Regions from separate parts of the Homo sapiens genome. Here all the other regions are linked to region 2. Evidence: promoter capture Hi-C in human tissues and cell types (Jung and others, 2019). All regions are on one chromosome and are shown on one strand. Each heading gives the region's core, a stretch centred on a gene start or on the middle of the fragment in contact. The rest is flanking DNA. Distances are from core to core; before and after follow the strand shown. Region 1 holds the start of ALOX12B (arachidonate 12-lipoxygenase, 12R type). Region 2 holds the start of ATP1B2 (ATPase Na+/K+ transporting subunit beta 2). Region 3 holds the start of SLC2A4 (solute carrier family 2 member 4).

The links. Contacts are between HindIII fragments. The study calls those that stand out against the background at their distance.
Region 1: the fragment with the promoter of ALOX12B here is called in contact with the fragment with the promoter of ATP1B2 in region 2 in 1 of the 25 tissues and cell types used here (stomach).
Region 3: the fragment with the promoter of SLC2A4 here is called in contact with the fragment with the promoter of ATP1B2 in region 2 in 2 of the 25 tissues and cell types used here (liver and small bowel).

The regions. Positions count from the first base shown.
Region 1 is chr17:8,086,395-8,091,254 of GRCh38, reverse strand. It overlaps ALOX12B (arachidonate 12-lipoxygenase, 12R type), which reads left to right and starts at 3,539. Exons shown (of 15, transcript NM_001139.3): 1 at 3,539-3,959. The coding sequence starts at 3,813. MIR4314 (microRNA 4314) reads right to left here and starts at 3,199; the gene lies at 3,108-3,199. RefSeq lists an enhancer at 3,763-4,511. The HindIII fragment of the contact is 32,393 bases long and covers 1-4,860 here.
Region 2 is chr17:7,648,368-7,652,726 of GRCh38, reverse strand. It overlaps ATP1B2 (ATPase Na+/K+ transporting subunit beta 2), which reads right to left and starts at 1,801. Exons shown (of 7, transcript NM_001678.5): 1 at 1,097-1,801. The coding sequence starts at 1,208. RefSeq lists enhancers at 1,231-1,873, 2,148-2,648, 2,649-3,149 and a silencer at 1,742-1,891. The HindIII fragment of the contact is 20,754 bases long and covers 1-4,359 here.
Region 3 is chr17:7,280,468-7,284,701 of GRCh38, reverse strand. SLC2A4 (solute carrier family 2 member 4) reads right to left here and starts at 2,984. Exons shown (of 11, transcript NM_001042.3): 1 at 2,735-2,984; 2 at 1,341-1,457; 3 at 1,057-1,229; 4 at 840-964; 5 at 613-728; 6 at 323-485; 7 at 30-217. The coding sequence starts at 2,767. RefSeq lists an enhancer at 1,751-2,738 and a silencer at 2,871-3,020. The HindIII fragment of the contact is 23,134 bases long and covers 1-4,234 here.

The DNA.
Region 1 (4,860 bases), core at 2,290-4,789, 440 kb before region 2:
ACTGCCCTGCTTCTCACCAAGCCTCAGCAGCCCCCTGGGGACACAGGGCAAAGGGGAGAGATTAGAAAGAGGAAGCTGGGAGAATTTGCATGGAATTTGCATCTTAAGATTTGCATCTTCAGGCTCCCAGCATCCTCCAAGAGTCATCGAGGTGGTTGAGGAGGGAGATCCCAGGGGGGAGATCCAGCTGGACGGCTTCTGTCTGCAGCCCAGGACAGCCAGCCCTGCCACCCAGAGCTGGGCACAACCCTCATCCTCAGCCTTCTCCCCTCTCCTCCCTCCCTCCCCACCCAACCCCTTTCCCTCCCCTACACCACGCCTTGCCCCTTCTCTCACCCTGAGCCCAAGTCAGCTCTCTTCGGATCTTCACCATAACTCCAAAGCCATCATCGATTCAATCCCCAGCCCTGACCTTGTCCTTGTCATTAACCCATTCAACTATGTTTTCGGTGTCTCCCAGGTACCAAGTATGACACCAGGAGATGGGGACAAAACCAAAAAAAAGTATGGACTAATTTATTAGAGAAAACAGACATCAATCAAAGATGTTAGCTATAGTGCTGTGAGAGCCATGTATAGTGAAATTTGGCTTTCCTGGAAAAAGCAATTATTGAGCTAAGATCAGGAGGAAGAGGAAACGTGACCTCAGTTTGAGAGGTAGAGAGGGAACAGCATGTGCCAAGGCCCTGGGATGGTGACGAGCTGACTTCACTTCCTTCAGGTCTTTACTCAAAAGTCTTCTTCCCAAGGAGCCCTCCTTGGCCACTCTGTATCTAAAATATCCTCCTTTTCTTTTTTCTGAGATGGATTTTCGCTTTTGTTGCCCAGGCTTGATAGCAATGGCATGACCTTGGCTCACTGCAACCTCTGCTTCCTGGGTTCAAGCTATTCTCCTGCCTCAGCCCCCGAGTAGCTGGGATTACAGGCATGCGCCACCATGCCCGGCTAATTTTTATTTTTAGTAGAGACGGGGTTACTCCATGTTGGTCAGGCTGGTCCCGAACTCCTGACCTCAGGTGATCCGCCCACCTCAGCCTCCCAAAGTGCTGGGATTACAGGCATGAGCCACCATGCCCGGCACTCCTCTATTTTTTATATTATCCTTCCCTGTTCTCTCTTTTCTCTTCAGCACTTATCACTATTTAACATACTATTTAATGTATTTGGTTACTAGGTAATATTGTCTGCTTCCCTCACTTGAAGGCAAGCTCCATGGGTGCAGGGGTTTGCTTTGATCGCATTGTATTTTCAGGACCTGACACAGCGCTGAACACACAGTAGGGGTTCGGCCAGTGTCTGTTGATGAATGAATGAAAGGCACGTGGTCCCAGACAGAAGAGAGCAAAGGGGAATGTGAGGGGTGAAGCCAATCAGGCAGGCCGTGGGGGCCACGGGAGGGGATGGTGTCACTGTCCCAAAGGTAAAGAGGAGCCACTGCCAGGCTTGATCAGGGTTGGGAGGAGGGAACATAGAGAGTGATGTGAACAGATTTGGGTCTGGAAAAGATCATTTCAATCCCCAACTCCAGCCACATCTGTGTCTCTAACCTAAACCTGAATTGCAGTTTCGACCCCATTCCACATCCAGTCTGGAACCTACTGGAACCTTCTCTTCATCTCACAATCCCAGCCCCCTCTGACCCTAACTTGGCCTGGGCATTGAATGACCTTCCTTCGATGGTGATGGAAGCGTGCCATCAGGGAGGAAAGCAGGGCTATGCTTCCTGGTTGACAGAAGCTGCTCCTCGGAGGTGAAAGGAAAGAGGACAGGTCCAGAAAAAGGGAATAGGAACGTGCCTGCCTCCTCACTCTCCCTGGGTCCCAAATCCTATCTTTGGAGAGTCTATCTCTGACTCTCTCATAATGCTCTTCACCTTACTCCTAACACCTTCTCCCTATCCTGCGGCTCTGACTTCTGTGATTCTATCAGCAACTAGTTCCCAATCCCAACCTCCCACGCTTATTTTCTTCAGAGCACTTAGTATCCAAAATTATAGTGAACAAATTCTTGTTTACTGTTTCTTTCACTTCTTTCCCAGCTATTCCGTAAGCTCCATGTATGTTTCATTTCTTCTCTGCCTCTGCAGTGCCTAGAACGCCGTGCACCGTGCTCACTACATATCTGAGGGAGGAACGACCTGGTTCCCAACAAACACAGTTCCACTGGAGCTCAGCCCTGCCTCCAGCCCTCTTCCTAGCTTCATTCTTTTTTGGGAGGGAAGTGAGGGTATGTACTTTATGAAATTAAAGGATAACACATAATGAAATGAATGAAGTACCCTAGACGCCCCTCAGATCAAGATAAGAACACCTCCAGCAGCCTATATGGCCTCCCTCTGCCAGGGATACTCACCAGTAGAGGTTGTCTGAGAATTGCTCAGTTTTGCTGGTTCTGGAAGTTCCTATCAATGGATAACAGAACGTATCCCCTTTAATGTCTGGCTCTTTTTGCTCAGTATCATCTTTGTGAGACTCATCCGCATTGCAGTTCATTCTTTTTATTCCTGGGTAGAATTCTATTTTATGATTATACCACAAAATATTGATCATATTAATCCATTATTTAACTTAATTCTTTTGTCTTTTTTTTTTGGAGACGGAGTCTTGCTCTGTTGCCCAGGCTGGAGTGCGGTGGCACGATCTCAACTCACTGCAACTTCCGCCTCCTGAGTTCAAGCGATTCTCCTGCCTCAGCCTCCCAAGTAGCTGGGACTACAGGCGCATGCCACCACGCCTGGCTAATTTTTGTATTTTTAGTAGAGACAAGGTTTCACCATGTTGGCCAGGCTGGTCTCGAACTCTTGAGCTCAGGTGACCCACCTGCCTTGGCTTTCTAAAGTGCTGGGATTACAGGCGTGAGCCACCACGCCCAGCTATTTAACTTAATTCTTATGCCCCAGATTTCACTCTGTCTTCTAATTTAGTTTTTTTTTTTTTTTTTTTGGGCTTCTGATTTTATATCCAACTCCAATCCCTCACCAGTGGATCCTGGCCCCACAGGAAGCAACAGATCCCCTTCTCCTACCCTGATCGTTCCTCCCCGCAGCATCTTCAGGCCTTTGGGCACCCATGTGGTCCCCGAGCCCTAGCTTCAACACCTCCCACCCTTCCAGTCACAGACTCTGGGCCCTGGGGCAGAAGGACAGGCCAGCTTTCTCACTGTGGCCACTACCTGTCCCATTTCCCAGAGAGGAATGGCCTGGAGGCTGGCCAGCTGCGCTGCCACTTAGTGCCCCTCCCCCTCCCCTCCCCCGCCCACCAGTGGCCTCAGAACCAATGCAAGTCACTCACTGCCCATGGCCCTGCTTAGTAGGGGTGCCTGGCACTGTAGCCAATGGGGACTGGCAGGAGGAAGGAGCTTATTAGTCTGATAAAGATCTGGGGACCACACCCTGCCCCCTCCCGCAACTTCCCTAGGGCCCTGGCTCAGGCTGGACTGGCTCCCCCACCCTGAAGGCGCCTTCATCCACGGCATCTTCTATCCGCCCTTTCAGAGGCAGGCCCAGTGCCCTGCCTGCTCTTCCTCCCCACCAGCTCCCAGAAGGCTTGGAGCCCAGACACCTGCTCACTCACCACCAGCTGGGCTCCGCCTGGGCCTGCCCGGCACCCACCCCGGCCACCAAGGGCAGCAGCTTTTCCAGAATTTGGCTGGCAGGCCTAGTCACCCCACCTCGCCACCTCACCACTGCACCTCGGAGGCCAGCCCTGTCCACTCCACTCTGTGCCTGGCTTCTCTTGCCTGCCTTGGGCCTTCGTGTGGCCCCTCCACGGTGTCTGGGACTGAGTGCCCCTCTTGCCTCCTGAAGAGCAGCCATGGCCACCTACAAAGTCAGGGTGGCCACAGGCACCGACCTCTTGTCGGGAACACGGGACTCCATCTCACTGACCATTGTGGGGACACAAGGAGAGAGCCATAAGCAGCTGCTGAACCACTTTGGGAGAGACTTTGCAACTGGGGCGGTAAGAGTGTGTGTGTGTGTGTGTGTGTGTGTGTGTCTGTGTGTGTGTGTGTGTGTGTCTGTGTGTGTCTGTGTGTGTCTGTGTGTCTTTGTGGCCCCGGGAGGGGTGAAGGTGCGCAGGGGGAGCCAGGTGAGCTGAGCTTGGCGAGGAGAGGCTGGAGAGCTGAGGCACAGCTCCGAAGGCAGTGGGCTCCCCAGTGGCTCTACACGCCTTGTCCAGAGCTGGCTTCCAGCCCCTCGCCCATGTCCCAGATCTCTGGGCCATCCTTCTCCATCCTGCTCCTTCATCTCTAACCCTTTCAGGCATTCCTCATCTCCCTCCCCATCCTTTTCTTCTCTCTCCCTCTTCCTCAGCCCTCTCTCCCTGTCTCTGCCTATCCTGCATCTCTCTTTTCTCAATCCTTTCCACCTGCTTTCCTTCCCCTTTGCTCTCCTCCCCTTTCTGTCTTACCCCCTCTCCCGCATCCCTCTCTCTTCCATTCTCAGTCACTCTTCCTAATTCAGCTGCCTCCTAACTGTCTCACATTTGCACTGGATTCTCTGTGACTTAAAATGGCATCAGACCAGCCTGTCCAGTGGAAGGCACGCTTTGCGGGTCCTCAGACCTGATTTTCAGTCAGACCCAGCCACCTGCTGCTAGGCGACCTTAATAGGTCACTCTATCTATGTGGCCATTCTGAATATCTGCATCTTCATTGATGAATGGGAGAAGGGGCTGGCTGGGCCTCTCCCCACTCGAAAACTGTAGAGTGGTACCCAAGTCCCCAGGGGTCTGAAGGGTTCCTGCAACCTCAGGTGCCTGGAGAGGGGAGTGGGAGAAGACAGGAGCTGGGGATGGAGAGAAGGAGGGGCTGGAGTCCTACATAGCCCTGGGTAGAGGAATCCAGTAGGAGACCCCCAAG
Region 2 (4,359 bases), core at 552-3,051:
GGGATCTCTCCATGGCTCCCCCGCCTGAAGTAAGGACCCAAGGGCCGGCTGTTCCCACCACCCTGGACTCCCAATCCTTCCATCTCAGAGGACACTTCTTCCATGAAGTCCTCTGGCTCTCCCAAGCATTGCTGGATTCTTCTCATCCCAGGGGCTGGAGTTTGAGTTCCCTGAGGGAATGGATTGCATGGGACCCACTTCGTGTAGGCCCCGAATGGGTGGACTGATGGGGACGGTGCCCAGTGTGGAAAGATTGTAAATCGTGTCACACAGTGTCCTCTGTCCCCTGTGTCTCAACGTCCCAGCTTGACCATCCCTCTTGGAAGAATTCCACCCCTCACCTGCACCTGTGCCGGTCACCAGACCCCCTCCACCCCCCCAACCCCCGACCACTACAGCTCCCTGAGTCCTGCCATGGTCAGCCTGGGGAGGCTTCCAAGTCATCCGACTGTCACAGACACCTGGCTGGCTGATGCACACAAATCACCACAGCGACCACTCCTCCCTCCGTCACCGACATGGGAGCAAAACCTGCAGCCTCGGTAAAACTCATACTATCAGCAGCCCCCCAACCCACAAAGCAGTCCCAGAAGGCTCCCAAGGCCAGGCGGTGGGATACAGACAACTTCCGCCGTGAAGAACCCCCCTAACACACCCCCCAAGACCCGCCCCCTCATGAACGTTCCCAGGGTCCAGGGGGTGGGCACGAGCTAAAAATAGACGGGGCTGCGGAGCTAGTGAGAGCCGGAGGGAGGGAAGGGGCGCTCTTTGGAGGTGGGGGACGCCCGTGTGGAGCGGACAGGCCCCGAGAGGGAGTGTGAGCGCCGGCGCGGACACGCAGGCGGAGCTGGCGACCCCCCGCCCGAGGGGGCTCCGCGGGGGGCGGGAAGGCGGCTGTGACCTACTTTCTCCGCCTCCGCACGGCCAGCCGGGGAGATTAGACTGGCGATTCGGCCCCCTCCCAGCCCAGAGCCCGGCAGGGAGGCTGGACGCCGGGGACCCGGGAGGGGAGCTGGGGCCGCGTCGGCGGGACCCTGCGCCCCCGAGGCGTCGCCCCGCGGCTTTCCCCCGCCCCTTGCGTGCCGGCCCTGCGTACCCCAGCTGGTCCCGGTGCGGCCCATAAACTGGTGCGTCCTCGGGTTCCACACGAACTCCTTCCACTCCTCAACCACCTGCCCGCAGCTCTTCTTCTCTTTCTGGATGACCATCTTGGTGGCGCGGGGCGAGTCCGGGCGCGGGGCGGGGGGTTGCGGAGAAGCGGGGGCGCCGCGCGCTGAAGCCCTCCACACACCCAAAAGCACGGGGAGCGAAGGCGGCGCGGGCAAAGGAGACCCCCCTCAGATATGCAGCTGCTGCAGATTCCGGGGTGCACGACCACGCGCTGCGGGGTGCTGGCAGCGCGGCGGAAGATGCACCGATCCTAGGCCCCCCAACTGCGATGAAAAGGGGTGCTGTCAGAGCAGGGGAGAATAACAAGAGGAAGGGGTATGAATGCAGCTTCACCCCCCACCAAACCGTCTAGAAACAAAACGAAATGGGGTGCAAAAACAGACGGCTACAAAAACCGAGCAGAACGCAGAAAAAAAGCGGGGTACAAAAAGGCAGAGAGAGGTGGGGGAGGGGGCCGCCCCGAAATCCAAGATGCAAAGAAGCTGTGGAACGAAGCTCAAGGCTCGCTCCGCCAAGCGGAGACCACTGCACCGGTGGTGGCTCAGCCGCGGGGGTGGGGCGGGGACGCGCAGCTGGGGGACAGCCAGGGATGGGGGGCCCCCCAGGCGGAGGCTCCGCTCCTCAGCAGTGCGAGGCCCGCGGTCGCCGAGCGCGGTCTTTATACTCTGCGGCTCTGGGGGTGCCCGCCCCCTTCCCACCCCCAGAAGCTCCGCCTCCTCGCCACTGGCCCAGGCGACCTCATACATATGTAAATATGGAGAGGTTGGGCCCGCCCCCCTGACTTCTCTTAGGGACCTAGCTGTCTCTCCATTACCCCCACCCCAGGTACTAGACTGGGACAGGGTGGGAGGAAGAGATAGAGGGCGTGTCCGGGCGGAGTAGAGGGAAAGATAACCCCAGAGAAACACAACGGCAGAGAGAGAAGCCGATATATGCTCAAAGGTGGGGGCCCCAGGCAGGGAGTTAGAAAGAGACTAAGATACAGATGCGGCGGAAGAGTCCGGGAGCAGATGGGGCAGAATGTCAGAGGAATAAAGAGCTAGAGATCAAGAAAGAGAGCGAAGAGACCAGCCGGGAGGCTGGCCGAGCCAGGAGGGAAGCTAGGACAGGCCCCGCAGAGATGGATAAAGGCCACCCCCAGAGGGACGTTCCCCTGTTGGGAGCCGCTACCAGTCCCCCAGACGCCTCCTTCTCCAATCTCACAGCCCCTGTCCACACCACCTGGCTCTGTCCACGTGCAGAGGCTTCCCCATCTTCCCATCACGTCTCCCTGAAGCCCTCTCAACACCACATTCCCAGTCCCCAGCACTGCCCTGAGATCCCAGCCCTGCAGCCAGGTCTACTTCGGTTCTCTGCCTCCTGGCACCCCCACCCCCACGTCGGAACTCACCTCCTTATGTGTCTACTTGGGTCAACAAACATTTATTGAGCACCTCTATAGACTGTGTGCTGTAGCCCTGGGGAGGCCAGAGAGGTTACACTGAAGCCACATCTCTCACGGGGCTCACAGTCTAGGGCGGGAGTACACTTGCTCTACATACCACATGTTAAGAATCATTATCTCAAGCCGGGCACGGTGGCTTATGCCTGTAATCCCAGCATTTTGGGAGGCCGAGGCGGGCAGATCACGAAGTCAGGAGTTCGAGACTAGCCTTGCCCACATGGTGAAACCCCGTCTCTACTTAAAAATGCAAAATTAGGCCAGGCGCGGTGGCTCACGCCAGTAATCCCAGCACTTTGGGAGGCCGAGGTGGGTGGATCACGAGGTCAGGAGATCGAGACCATCCTGGATAACACAGTGAAACCCCGTCCCTACTAAAAATACAAAAAAAAAAAATTAGCTGGGCGTCGTGGCGGGAGCTTGTAGTCCCAGCTACTTGGGAGGCTGAGGCAGGAGAATGGCATGAACCCGGGAGGCGGAGCTTGCAGTGAGCCGAGATCGCTCCACTGCACTCCAGCCTGGGCAACAGAGCTTCCGTCTCAATAAAAAAAAAAAAAAAAATTAGCTGGGCATGGTGGTGGGTGCCTGTAGTCCCAGCTACTCAGGAGGCTGAAGCAGGAGAATTGCTTGAACCCGGGAGGCGGAGCTTGCAGTGAGCTGAGATCACGCCATTGCACTCCAGCTTGGGCAATAGAGTGAGACTTCGTCTCAAAAAAAGAGAGAAAAAAAAAATCATTATCTCGGCCAGGCCCAGTGGCTCATGCCTGTAATCCCAGCTCTATAGGAGGCCGAGGCCAATGGATCACCTGAGCAAGGGAGTTCGAGACCAGAGGTCAGGAGTTCAAGACCAGCCTGGCCAACATGGTGAAACTGCGTCTCTACTAAAACTAAAAAAATTAGCCGGGTGCGGTGGTGGGAGCCTGTAATCCCAGCTACTCAGGAGGCTGAGGCAAGAGAATTGCTTGAACCTGGAAGGTGGAGGTTGCAGTGAGCCGAGATTGTGTCACTGCACTCCAGCCTGGACAAGAGCAAAACTCCATCTCAAAAAAATGGTATGCATTGAATGAATGAATGAATGAATGGGAGTTGGGGCTGGCCTCTGAAGGGTAGGTAGTCTTCCAGGACAAAGGAATGAAAGGCACAGAGGTGTGAAGTCAGGAGTAAGCACAGTCTACCCCAGGAGTGGCTGGCTTGGCTCCAGGAGAGAACTAGTCGGAGACTAGTGGGAAAGGAGGTTGGGGACACAGCATGGGTGTGGATTGCGGAGTACCCTGCAGGTTAGACTGAAGAATCAGGACTCTATCCTACAGGCTAATAAGAAGCCACTGAAGAACTTTCAGCTGAGGAGTGGCCTAATTAAAGCTGTATTTTGAGAAAATTAATCCCGAATCTGCTGCAGAATAGACTGAAGCATGGCCAGCTGCATAATTGTCAGGATCCAGTGCAAAATGGAAATGCAGGGACCCTTGTTCAAAACCTAGGGGAAAAAATGCCCTTAGAGGCACTAAAATATAAACTTTTTTTTTTTTTTTTTTTTTTTTTTTTTTTGGAGACAGAGTCTCACTGTGTCACCCAGGCTGGAGTGCAGTGGCATGATATCTGCTCACTGCAGCCTCTGCCTCCAGGGTTCAAGCGGTTCCTCCCTCAGTCTCCCGGGTAGCTGGGACTACCACCACGCCCGGCTAATTTCTGTATTTTTTTGTAGAGATGGGATTTCACCATGTTGGCCAGGCTAGTTTTGAGTTCCT
Region 3 (4,234 bases), core at 1,735-4,234, 370 kb after region 2:
GCCCTGCCTGGAGGCTGCTCCACACATACAGCATTGATGCCAGAGAGCTGCTGGCTCAGCTGCAGCACGACCGCAATGATCAGGGGCTGCCGGTGGGTACGGCTGCCCAGGAGCTGGAGCAGGGACAGTGGCCGCTCACGCTCCAGCTTCCGCTTCTCATCCTTCAGCTCAGCCAGCACTCCAGAAACATCGGCCCAGCCTGTCAGGCGCTTCAGACCTGGAGAAGGGAAGGTCAGGCCTGAGGGGACCTGAGAGGAAGCCAGGTGCTAGCAAGATGAGGCGGAGGCATGGGCCTGGGCCAGGCTGCAGCGGGAGAGCTTACTCTTTCTGGCAGGCCCCTCGAGATTCTGGATGATGTAGAGGTAGCGGGGGCTCTCGGGACAGAAGGGCAGCAGGACCAGCTGCAGGAGGGCAGGTAGCACTGTGAGGCCCAGGAGCAGTGGCCACAGGCTGGCAGTGCCCAGGAGGGACTCCAAGCCCAGCACCTGTGGGAGAAGGTTGGGAAAGAAGGCAGGTCACTCAGCCCTTCTGCCTTACCTTGGAAGCCCACCATATTCTCCAGAGCCCCACTCTAACCACTGCCCAGGCACCCATGAGGCTTGCTCCGGTCACCTGGGCGATCAGAATGCCGATAACAATGGCCAGTTGGTTGAGCGTCCCCAGGGCGCCCCGCAGGTGAGTGGGAGCAATCTCCCCCACGTACATGGGCACCAGCCCTGATGTCAGCCCTGGGCGAGGGAAGAAGAGAGGGCTGAGGGCAGGTGTCCATTCCCATCTGAAAGCCCAGGCATGGTGAAAGAGAACAGGGCGCTAGGCAGGGCTGTGGTGCCCGTGAGTACCTGAGTAGGCGCCAATGAGGAATCGTCCAAGGATGAGCATTTCATAGGAGGCAGCAGCATTGGCCAGGCCCATGAGGCTGCCCCCCAGCACCGCCAGGACATTGTTGACCAGCATGGCCCTTTTCCTGGCAGGCAGACAGAGTGAGGCTGTGAGGGTGAGGGCACCCAGCAGTGGCTCCCTTCCTGTTTCCCCCACCCCTGCCCTCCAGCTGCGAACCTTCCAAGCCACTGAGAGATGATACCAATGAGGAAGGAGGAAATCATGCCGCCCACGGAAAAGATGGCCACGGAGAGGGCCCAGAGGGTGGTGAGGGTGCCTGGAGGGATGGAGCTGGGTCCCTCAGGCCCCTGCCTCCCCAGCCACGTCTCATTGTAGCTCTGTTCAATCACCTGGGGGACAGCAGAGGACAGATTTCCTGCAGACCGTCCCCTTTCCACCACCCCCGAGACACCTGTCCTCCTCGTTTGGGTACCCCCACCCTGCCAGCTGCAGGCCCTCACCTTCTGAGGGGCATTGATGACCCCAATGTTGTACCCAAACTGCAGGGAGCCAAGCACCGCAGAGAACACAGCAAGGACCAGGGTCCCAGTCACTCGCTGCTGAGGGGGTTCCCCATCCTGAACAGGCAGACACAAAGACACAGCATGTCACATGGAACCATGATTTTTTTCCTTCCGCTAGGGGCCCGGGCCCAGCTGGAGCCTGAAGATACTGGGCTCCACCCAACATGTTGGGTGAGGGAAACTGGGCCATATTAGGAATTGCACAAAGATCTCAATGTAAACAGGAGCTGAACTGCAACCTGGGCATAAAGGAGAAACTGGATGTTTGGGTCCATAAGGCAGAGAAATGTTTGAGAACTTGTCTCAAAATTCTTCTGTGACCTTGAGACAGGCTTGGCCTTAAGAGCTCAGATTTGTGTGACCTTGGCCAAGTCACTTCCCTGCCCCGAACCTGAGTGTCCTCTGTGAGATGGGGGTGATGTTGCCTGCCTTGCCTACCTATCTGTGAGAGTGTTGTGAAAATCAACATCACATGTTAACAATATCCTTGACAGTGCTGGTTTCATAAATTAACACGTGCATTATTATCATCAGCCACTGTCCTCTTCCCTCCCCTCTGGGGGTTCTGTCAGCCAGCTCCAGGAGGCCCCCAACAGGACCAAGAAGTGCTGTTCCAGAAAGGACATCCCGGTCATCTAGGGGTGGCCTTCTCTATCTACGTCGTGGCCTGCCCTCCCCCTCTAACCTCCGTGCAGGGAGGGCCGTCCAGGGGTTCTGCCTGGGAGAGCCATGCCCAGGGGAGGAGGGCAGGAAGGTAGTGTGAGGGGCGGTGGCAGTGGTGGCCGCTCGCTGGCGGCACAGACTGTCTCCAAGCGGAAACCTGAGCTGGAGGAGGGGGGGCTGACAGTCCCCTCTGCCCCTCCACCAACCATGGGGCCAAGGGAAAGTTCAGCGTCCTGGAGGGCGGCCAGGAGTGGGGGTGGGGGCCCACGGAGAGCCTCCGGTCCTCGAAACACTGCCCGTGAGCGAAGACGGACGGACAGCTCCCGGAGGGCAAGACCCGCCTGGATCTGCTTTCCCGAGTCGGATCGAGGGCAGGGTGTCCCCGATTCCGGAGCGCCGCGCCGCCTACTAGGCAAGGGGGTGAACCCTGGCTCGCAGAATCCACTTGCTGCCTGTGCCCCGAAAGGCCCTCCAGACCCACTCTGCCTTTTGGTAGGATTGGAATCTCACAGTCACGGGTTGTCCAGGCCGGGTATAAATAGCCAGCCCCCTACCTTCACCCCCTGCGCCTGCGCAGGAACCACCCCCAGCTGACCCCAACCGCGACCCCAGCCCAAGAAAAGCGGGACCCGTGCCCCCCCGCCCCGCCCCCTCATGATGAATCCTACTTCGGAGCCTATCTGTTGGAAGCCCGACGGCATCTCGTCTTAGAAGAGCTGGACGCGCAGGGGCGGCGAAGATGAAAGAACCGATCCTGGAGTCTCTGACTCCGGCCTGGAGCGCAGAACCTGCGGAGGCCGCGGGGGTCCCGGAGTGACGTGCGAGGGCGGGCCCGATGGGACCCACAGCCACAAGCCAAGGACCCGGAGAGCAGTGGGGCTCCCGCGGATCTGGTGGAGCGGGGCTGGGGGAAAAGACGCGAGAAGCCCCCGCCACCTCGCTCCTGCCCCCGCGGGCCACGCCCTTCACAGCACCCATTGGCCAGGAGCCCGCACACCCCAGAAGGCCACGCCCCCTCCGCCTGGGGTTTAGAGTTTGGCTGGAGTTGGTGGGGCGGGCCAATGAGGCCACGCCCCTCCGCGTGGCTGGCGAGACACGCCTCTCGGGTTCCCGCCAGCCTCCGACTGGGAAGTTTTGAGAAAAGAGTCCCTGGAACAAAAGGCCCCGCCCACCCACGTGTTAGGACTCCGCCCACCAGCTAGGATCCCGGGCTGCAGAAGCATCTTAAACTCTGCGGGTCTGGACAGTGGGGTCTGAGAGGAGAGGACGGGCCAGGTGTACTTGCCCCGGGGAAACTCCAGCGGCCTGAGACGGCTCGCGAGCCGGCGCGCGGGTTGGGAGAGGAGCAATGCCCCAAAGTAACCCGGGGCTGCTATTTTTAGCTCCCACGTTGGGAGCCTCCAAATGTCAGGTCCCGGGCGTCCCGGCCTGTCCCAGGCGGGGGCGGAGAGACAGGGAGATGACGCCTTAAAGAGTCCGCGACATGCTTCCCACGCGAGTGTGGCCCTGGGGGCCAGGAAATTCCGTTCCCACAACGGGTCTGGTGGCCGGGCTGCTTGGTCCTGTCTTTCAGCGCCTCCCTGCTCCGGGCACTGTCTATCCCGCCCTTCCCCTACACACATTCCCCAGGTTGGTTCCTGGAGCCGGTCCGAGGGACAAGTGGTCACAACCGACCACACCACCAGCCCTGAGGTCTCTGAGCCTCTGAGGTCTCTGAGCATATGCTGGCCGCGTGAACGACACGCTCTCTGGAGGCTGCTCCGGGTTTGGATCCTCGGCCAAATTCTGCCAGGCAGAAAGTGCGCGACCTAGGGTCGGCGTGTGGGGAGAGAGAAGCCGAAATACCCAGAGCGTGGAGAGTGTCTGGCTCAGAAAACGGGCTTCGGAAGCGCAGGGTTGTGCTGCCACCTGGAGGGCGAGCGAGGAGCCGCAGTGGATTGCACTTGGAATCTCAACCCACTATTTCTCGCCTTTCCGCCACCATAGGGCTTCAGTGACATCTGACCCAGGCCCTTCTCTGGAGCTGCAGATCCAGGTGTTCGTTACCGCCCGGATGTGGCAGCTCTAGTGATCAGCATGTCCAAACCTGCTCCTCCTCCTAACTTCCTTATTTCAATGAATTACCCGCCCAGTCACCCCTATGGTAGAAGTCAGGCTCGATTCCTCCT